Regions from separate parts of the Homo sapiens genome. Here region 2 is linked to region 1. Evidence: promoter capture Hi-C in 16 types of primary human blood cells and fetal thymus (Javierre and others, 2016). All regions are on one chromosome and are shown on one strand. The core of a region is centred on a gene start or on the middle of the fragment in contact, and the rest is flanking DNA. Distances in the headings are between cores, read along the strand shown.

Region 1 (4,482 bases), core at 1,608-4,107:
CCTATTTGAACCTGCCCAGCTGCTCGGGAGCTGTGTGACCTTGGGTTCATCTCTTGCTTGCTGAGCCTCAGCTTCCTTATCTGTAATGGAGGCAACAATAGCTGCCTCCCTGGGCAGGAGGATTAAATGAGATCATGGGTGCAAAGCCTGGCACACAGTAGGTGCTCAGTAAGGGTGCAGGTGTCTTGACTCCTATCTACCCGCCCTCTCCAGCCTGGTGGGTGTGGCTTTGACTGGCCAACTTACGCTTGACCTCATTTCCTGGCTCTACTCTGGGCCCACCTCCTACTCTTTCTGTTCCTCTGCAGAAGGAAATCTCATTCACCACCAGCCCGGCCTGCCCCTGGGTCCCACTTCCTCCTCCTTCTAGTATCTGGACCTGCCAGGATCTGACTGTTTTGCTATGGTCCAAGGCAGACAACCTGGAAATCCCTGAATTAGTTTAGGGACCATCCCCTACTCTCAAGAGATGGGAAGACTGAGGTGCAGGCTGCAGAGGGGCTGCCCAAGGCCTCCTAGCATCTGGGATTCCCACTCTTCCTCCAGCAAGCCCTCCATGATTTACCCACTTAACACCAGCTTGAACCTGGATCAGGACAGACTTTTTAGTATCTCCTCAGCCAGAGGTGAAGCTCCTGAGGCCCTGCCTCCTAGAACATTCCTTCCCCTGGTATCACTGGGCTCCTGGCTTGTCCCTGTGCCTGCCTCTGTGGCCTGGACTGCTCTGCTTTCCCCCTCTCTGAGCTTCACTGTGGAGTGTGGCATGGACTGTGGGTCAGAAGGAACCGCACTCACCCTGCTTCTACCTTGTGTTGGTTGTGTGACCTTGGACTGGCTGCACAGCTTCCCTCAGCCTCGATGGTCCCATCTGTCAAATGGGAATTCTCATAGTTGCTTCAGTGTGACTGAGGGGGTGCAGAGAGAGGATACAGGGAACAGTCATGGGTCCATGTGGGCAAAATGAGCCTAAGATTCTTCCTGGGATGGTGTCCCCTCTGTCCCCTGGGTGTCCCCAAGTCAGCAGTGAATCATCCAACTTTGCAGAAAATGTGTGGCCCCTGCTGGCTTCCTGCCCTCATGTCCGGCCCTTGTTTGGCAACACAATAGCTCAGGCTGAGGCTGCAGGCGGGCAGCTTAACCCCTTCCAGGCCAGTATACACCTCCCCTACCCCTCACCACCATAAGCTGAAATTGGTAGGGCTGCTCAGGGGCTCAGCAGCTCTTGGGCCCCTTGGTGGATACCTGCTGCTCTCTAGGGCAGGCAGAGGAGAGTCCCAGGCTTCCCACCACCTGAGGATGGACCAGGGCTTCTGGCCCTGGCTCCAGTGGCCTGTGGCAAAAGAGCCTTCCAGGTACACCCTCGACTCCTCAAAGCTGCCTCCCTGGGAATGCCCTTCCTCTCTTGTCAGAATCCTATCTGCCCATCACACATGAGAAACGTCCACGCTGGGGAGGGAGCCTGACATGGAGCAGAGGCCCAGAGGTGCTCGCGATGTCCTCTCACTTGCACCCCCTTCCTCGTACCTGCTGGGCACCTGAGGACCCCTCCGTGATGGGGTTTGACCATACCTCAAGGGCCAAAATCTTTATCACATTCACAACCAGGATCGGCTCTGTGCTAGCTGGTAAATCCAGCCACTATTCCTTAAAGATCTCATGTTATGTGCCATTCCCAGCACCAGGGATGTAGCTCACTTCACTCAATTGACTGAGGAAACACTGTTTCCCCATTTCACAGATGAGACACTTGAGACCTGGGGAGAGCTGGGGCTTTGGAGTACGAGATCCTGGTTCAAATCCCCACACCAGCTCATATGTTTCCAAAGCTCAGTTGCTTTCACTGAGATATAAAGAAAGAATGTATCTACCTTGTGGAGTTGTTAATGGTAAAATAATGAGCCCCACACCATCCCTTGTTCCCCACTGTGGTTTGGAAACTCTGGGTAACTTTCCCAAGGTCACCCCAGAGCAAATGGGAGAGCTGGGATCTGTACCCAGGGCAGCTGTCTCCAGGCCAGGCTCTTGGCCCAGACCTCCTGCTTCTGGGGGACTTCCTGGGCTGTGGGGGCCTTGGGGCTCTTATGCTCTAGCCTTTGAAAGGGTGCTGGTGGGAGGAATGGTGGACCGCTGTCCAGACTACAGCTCCCTTGACACATAGTGGGCCCCGATGGTGTTTGGGCAGGGAAAGGCCCAGAGGGAAAGGCAAGACCTCAAGTGCCCAGAGCCAAGCCTCAGCTTGCCTATCCTGAAATGGGGGCACTGGCTGACCGAGAGGGGCCAAGGCTCGGAGCTTCCTTTTCAGGGCCCCTCCCCAGATCCCAGCATAGAGCTTTAGTGGCGTATGGGTAGGGGGCTGAGGAGGCTGGTGTCAGGCCTTGGTAAATCCTCTCCAGTAAGGGTAAGGCACCGAGGGGAGGCCAAGGCCTGGGTGCCAGTCCTCTGCCCCGGCATGCTGGGCAACTGGGGCAGAATACTGCCCTCTCTGAGCCTGGCACTGATGAAGGCCAGTGGGCCTTTTTGAGTTGGAGAATACACTTCTGGGAGAGCCAAGCCCTTGCCCTGCCCCCCTCAGCCCCGAGATGCCCATTTGTGCCCTTGGCACTACCTCTGGGTGCACCTTCCCCGACCCTGCTCTGAGCCACGAGGAGGCCCAGCGTGCCCTCGAGGAGCCTCTCTGTCATGGGAGTGGGACGATGCCCATTCTACAGATGGGGAAGCTGAGGACCCTCCCATCTTGGGCGCAGGGTGGCGGGTTTGGGGTGGAGGGGAGTGTGGGAGCCCCCACTCACCGTGCCTGTGGGCTGAGGGATGTTTCTGTTCCGTTGGACTGCCTGTCCGTCCAGGGCTGAGCGTGAGTGGAGCTCTGTGGAGCCTGTCAGCCGACCGTCTTTGGAGGGGAGCCACACCCCGCTGGCGAGGGAGGCCTGGCTGCCTCCCCTTCAGGTTTTCCAGCTGGCCCTGGCCCACTTCCCCCTGGGATGGTTTCCTGTTATTGTTCCTTTGTGAGGGCTGGGCTGGCTGCAGATAGGCAGGCCCTGCGGTGGGCGGCTGCCTCGGCCCCGGATGGCTGTCTCCACAGAGGGCTGGCACTGGACCCTGCCTGGGGCACCCCACTTGAACCCCTACTCCCGGCCTCAGCTCTGGGACTCTGAACCCAGCACCTGCAAAGAGCCTGGCTGTGGGGACCCTTGGCTGCAGCATCACATTTAACCCTCCTTGGAATGCTACAGGCAGGTGTCATCACCCCCATTTTATAGCCCGGGAAGCTGAGGCTCAGCGGGTTTAAGGTGCTTGTCCACCCAGCTGGGGTATAAAAGAGCCAAAAATCTAGCTGGGGTCAGCCTAGCCCCAGAGCTTGATTTTCTGTGGTGATCCCATGATGTCTTTGTGGGAATGGACTTTAAAGGTGACAGGGAGGCTTCAGGAGATGGGAAAGGGACAGAAGCTCTTGGCTCTGGAGGACCAGGTTGGCTTCTCCTGGTCAGAGCGGGCATGGACTCCAGCTCTAAGGTGCCAGCCTCGGTCTGTAGGGGATGTTTGCATTTAGGGATATTGGGTGGAGTCAAGTGACCCAGCTCTGCTTCTGATGTGACCTCTGGCCAGTTGTGTCATCCTGGAGCCACAGTTTCCTCATCTGTAAAATGGGGATAATCACAGCCTCATCCTCACAAGGCTTTTGACATAAACGAGAATCAAAGAGGGGCGTGGAAGACAGTGACGCTGAGGCTGGATCAGAGCCCAGAAGAACCAAGAGGCTGGGGGGAAGGGAGGGGCCAAGATTCTGCTGACCAGGAGAGACATAGGAGGAGCTTCTAAAAACTACAGAGGACTGGGCTCACCCCAGATCAACTGATTTGGAATCTCCCAGGGCAGATCCTGGGAATCTGTCCTTTGAAGAGTTGCTTCTGTTTTTCCATGGGTGAATGGTTGGGAAGTCCCAAACTTGTTTTATTATATAGCTGGGCAAGCAGAGACCCTGAGAAAGAGAGGGCCCAGGGCCGTTTAGTAAATCAGAGCACAAGATGGGGAGTGTGATGGAAGGATATTTTTGGAGGAGGAGGGGATAGTGATTCCTCTGTCTCAGGCAGGTTGAGTTTGAGATGCTCGTTAGATACCCAGGTGGAGGTGTCAGGCTGGTGGGGGAGACAGGGGTGAGTCCAGCCTGGAGTCGAGGTTTGGAACCCAACAGCTTATGGCTGGCATCTGAGGCCATGGGCATGGATGAGCTTGGAGGGAGGGAGGACTTGGACCCTCTGACATTTGGGGATCCATTAGAAGAGGGTCCCATGATGAAGGAGGAATGCCAGGAGAGGGCAGAGGAGGAGGGCAGGGGAGTAGTCAGTGGGTCAGCCTGGGGAGCATGAGGGCTGAGACTTAACTTTGGATTTGGAAGATGAGGTCATCAATGACTGTGACCAGAACAGGTTAAACAGGAAAAGGTAGACAAGACAGATTGGAGGGGCTAGAGAAAGGGGAGAAAGG
Region 2 (4,019 bases), core at 1,434-3,933, 92 kb before region 1:
CTCTGGAATGTCTTCTGACCCCAGATGTGGGTTGGGACACACTGGTCACCCCATGATCCCCCATGACCCCTGGCCATGGCAGGGTTGCAGGTGCTTAGATTGCAAACCTAGAGTTGGATGTGCGTGCGTTTGTGTGTGTGTGTGTGTGTGTGTGTGTGTGTGTGTGTGTGTGTGTCTGCGCCTGCCTGCCCTGCACAGCACGCAGAACCTGCCTCTGGGACCAGCCCCATGGGGTCACCTTGAAGATGCCTCTCCCTTCACCTGCGTCAGCAGCAGATGAGAGCCTTGCCCTTGTCTAGCAGCACCAGGCTCATTACCAGATGGGCGGGAGATGGCATCACCCATGCCTGCAAGATGGAGCCAGCTGGTGCAGGCATCCGCCTGCTTGGACAGCTAGGAAATTAATCTCCCAGTCACCACAACCGGCAGAGGTAGGCGCTGCTTTAAATTATGAGGGAAATTCTTCCAATTTCCAAAACAAGGGCCTATTTTATCAAAAAGATAAATATGACTGCAGAGAAATAACATGATGACAATCCCCCTTCCCACCCCCGGTCTCCCTGTCCCCCTGTACCAGCTGCAGCAAGGATAGAAGATGAAACAAGCTTTGCCTCCTTCCTGGACTTTCTTCCCAAGCAGTTTCTATAAAGGTGCTCATGATCCAGTGGAAACCTCAAAAAAATAGGCTCTTCTCTGAGATACCACCTCCCCCCCAATGCCAGCATGAGTAATTACCATCTCCTGAGCACCTACTGTATTGTATGCCTTACACCATACGTGGTACTTGTCATGCACCACATTATCTCATTTAATCCTCATGATGGTCTATAATGGGATTCCCCAGTTAACAGGTAAGGAAACAGCCTCAGAGAGGTTAAGTAACTTTCCCAAGGTCACACAGCCCCACAGATAGAGACCTGGGTCAGTGAAAAACTGAAGCCCTGTGCTCTTAGCCAATATGCTATTCTGTGGCTACCAGGCACCATGCACTGGGAGTTCTGGTTTCTTAACTCTTGTGAAGGGAGAATGCTCTTCTCCCCAAAATGATGTTTTGCTTCTTCTGAGCCACTTGATATATAGCCAGAGCCAGCCATGACCTGGGGCTATTCAGGATGAAGGTGTATCAACAGCTGAACATTGCCATAAGATACCAGGATTCCAGAGATGGGAGCCTGTGTGTCTCAGAAAGAGATGGGCCACAGCAGGCAGGTGCCTGGGGAGAAGCAAATCATCCAGGGATGTGCGAGGACCTCCTGTTCTGTATCTGTTCTATCTCTGGGTATGTCCTAGAGATGTTCTAGATTGCAGGTAGGGACCCTTGGGTGATTTTACTGAGGAAGAACAATGATAAAGATAAGATAGCTCTCACTGACAGCACTTACTGTACATCCATCAGGCTCTAAACTCTTTTCATGCATGCTTCTCTCATTTAATCTTCACAGCAGCCCTGAGAGGTGGAGAGTGTCTTTCCTCCATCTTACAGAGAGGGAAGCTGAGCACAGAGCTGGTTAAAGTGGTGAGCCTGGAATGCTCTTTGCAATTCCTGAACTGGCACTCTCCAGCGCTCTGGTTCCACAGGGACTGAGAACACCAGGAGGGTGGGGCCTGTGTCTCTCTCTCTTGTCACCCCATCTGCCTAGGATACTGGGCAGGGCCAGTGCAGAGAGGAAGCTCAGGAGCCATTTGAATTGGACCAGGGGCAGTCTGTGACTGGTTGCTTGGTGTGCACGGTGTGCCTGAGTGCATCCCAGGGGAGCTGCTCCCAGTCACCCATTGGCCCATCCTTCCGTCCATCACCCACCCAACCCCCACAGCCCAATCGTGGGATCCACAGACATTTACAAGGAGTGGCAGAGTGTCGGAACAGAGTAGGTGCTTTCAGCCAGAAGAGCAAGTCAGGACTTAAAGAGTCCTGGTCTGGAATGGGCTGCCCATCAGTGATAAATCCGTCTGGCAAATTCCATTATAGGAGAATCTTGGGGCCCTGCTGAGGACTTGATGCATTTGAGGAATCACAAGAGAGGAGGAGGCTGGAGAGAAGCCTGCTGGGGGCTAAGTTTGGAGGGGCTTGCAGGGACCATACCGTGAGGGGTCTTCAAGGTCACATCAAGAGACTGTCCTTTGGGACAGGTGCAGTGGCTCATGCCTGTAATCTCAGCACTTTGGGAGGCTGAGGTGGGTGGACCACCTGAGGTCAGGAGTTTGAGATCAGCCTGGTCAACATGGTGAAAACCTGTCTCTACTAAAAATACAAAAAATTAGCCTTGCATGGTGGCAGGTGCTTGTAATCCCAGCTACTCGGGAAGCTGAGGCAGGAGAATCGCTTGAACCCAGGAGGCAGAGGTTGCAATGAGCTGAGATTGTGCCACTGCACTCCAGCCTGGGTGACAGAGTGAAACACCACCTCAAAAGAGAAAAAGAAAAAAAAAGAGAAAGAGATTGTCCTTTTCCCCAAGGGCAAAGAGGGGCGTGGTCAGAGTGTTTTAGGAGAGCCTCGGGTTGCAGATGGAGGACAGAATGGGCAGAGGCAGGGTTCGGGGCAGGAGACCAGGGAGGAGGCTGCTGCAAGGGTCCCCATGAGCTTGGAACTCAGGCTAGAGGAAGCTGAGCCCACGGCCTCTGCCCTGAACAGAGGTGAGCACAGAGCTGAGCACGGCTTGGATGAGCACACTTGATGCCACAGAATGACACTGCAGGGAGTTCCTTAGCCTCTCCAATTAGTTGTCTTCTGAGCAGCCTTCAGAGACAGCCGTGGTATTATTCCCATTCCACAGATGGGACCCCAAGTCCCCTGACGAGGCAGGAGCGGTGCCTGGGTCCATGGGCCTCTGCTGTGCAAGGCAGAAGCCAGCTCTGGCTCCTCCAGCTTCTAGTCCAGGGCTGGGACTGGGAACTCCATGGAATCAGAAGGTCCTAAGTGCAAAAAGGTCCTTTTGCAGACCTGGATGTGGGAGTGAGTCTGGGGCTTGCTTCCTCTCTGTGTGGATACCACTGTCACTCTCATTTACAGATGAGGACATTTTGTCTTGGTGAGCTAAAGTTATGTGTTCAAGATTGCCCACCTGGTTTTGTGGCAGAGCTGGGGTTTGAACTCAGGTTTATCTGATAATTTATCAAATAGTAGCACAGAGCAGAAGGAGAGAGCAGGATTTTGTGGGGCTGAGGGGTTTGGGGGTGGGGGCCGGAGAACTGGGCTCTGTTCCTCGTTCTGTCACTCATTCACTGTGTGACCTTCGGCATGCCGCTTGCCCTCTCTGAACCTGCTGGCTGTTTGAAGAGGCACTGATTATTCAACTCCCTCCAGGGTGGGAGGGGAGGGGGCCAAAAACTATGAGGGGAGGGAATGAGATCCAGGCCTGTATCAGGTGGCTTAGGTCAGGGCTGGCTCCGGTGTGGGGAACCTGGGGAACATTAAGGGCAGGGAAACTGAGGCAGACCATCACTCCCAAGTCCTTGCTGAGTGTAGCATGGAGGCAGCTCCACAGTCATTCTGTCTGGGTTCAGGGAAGTGCTCTTTGCAGCCTGAAGCTACCTGAGCTGCAGTGACAAAGGGAAGGAACAGAGACGCAAAAGTGCTGACTCAGCACCTTCAGGCTGCCAATCCTGCCCACTCTCTCAGAGATGCTGGTTAGAGGGAGAAGGGGGGCCAAGGACTCAGAACTAATGGATGGCTCCTGTCACAAAAATTCCAAAGACATTTGTCACAGGTCCACTTCCCGGGCAAGTCTGGCCTCATCAGTACACTCTTCCTCCACTGCTGAAATGGACAGGGTGAGGCGTGGAGTCATTGGAAGGAGTGTAGGGAACACGACTCAGGCACCATTTTCCCTCTGTTCACCATTGGCTGATCCCATCCTCTAAGCAGGGACTTCAAGAAGGGCTGGGGGAGGGGACATGGCAGGGCAGGGCTCATTGGTTTGGATACTTCTGAGTCTCCTCTGCTGCTGTTTTTTTTTTTTGGGCAACTTTTTAGCTCACTTGCTGATATCTGTCCTCTGGTCACCAGGAGACTGATAGAG

Evidence for each region. The method cuts DNA at HindIII sites, captures the fragments that hold promoters and counts their contacts. A CHiCAGO score of 5 or more calls a contact.
Region 2: a fragment that was not itself captured here is called in contact with the fragment with the promoter of CDH5 in region 1 in 1 of 17 cell types (activated CD4 T cells); the score reaches 5.0 in activated CD4 T cells.

Annotation. Positions count from the first base shown.
Region 1 is chr16:66,365,066-66,369,547 of GRCh38, reverse strand. CDH5 (cadherin 5) reads right to left here and starts at 2,857. Exons shown (of 12, transcript NM_001795.5): 1 at 2,790-2,857. The region is part of intron 2 of LOC105371318 (a long non-coding RNA gene); the gene reads left to right. RefSeq lists a silencer at 291-370 and enhancers at 898-1,604, 2,415-2,964. The HindIII fragment of the contact is 26,652 bases long and covers 1-4,482 here.
Region 2 is chr16:66,457,726-66,461,744 of GRCh38, reverse strand. The region is part of intron 2 of BEAN1 (brain expressed associated with NEDD4 1); the gene reads right to left. It also overlaps the pseudogene LOC107984807. Among named protein-coding and RNA genes, the nearest start is that of BEAN1-AS1, 17 kb to the left of the region's middle. The HindIII fragment of the contact is 4,152 bases long and covers 608-4,019 here.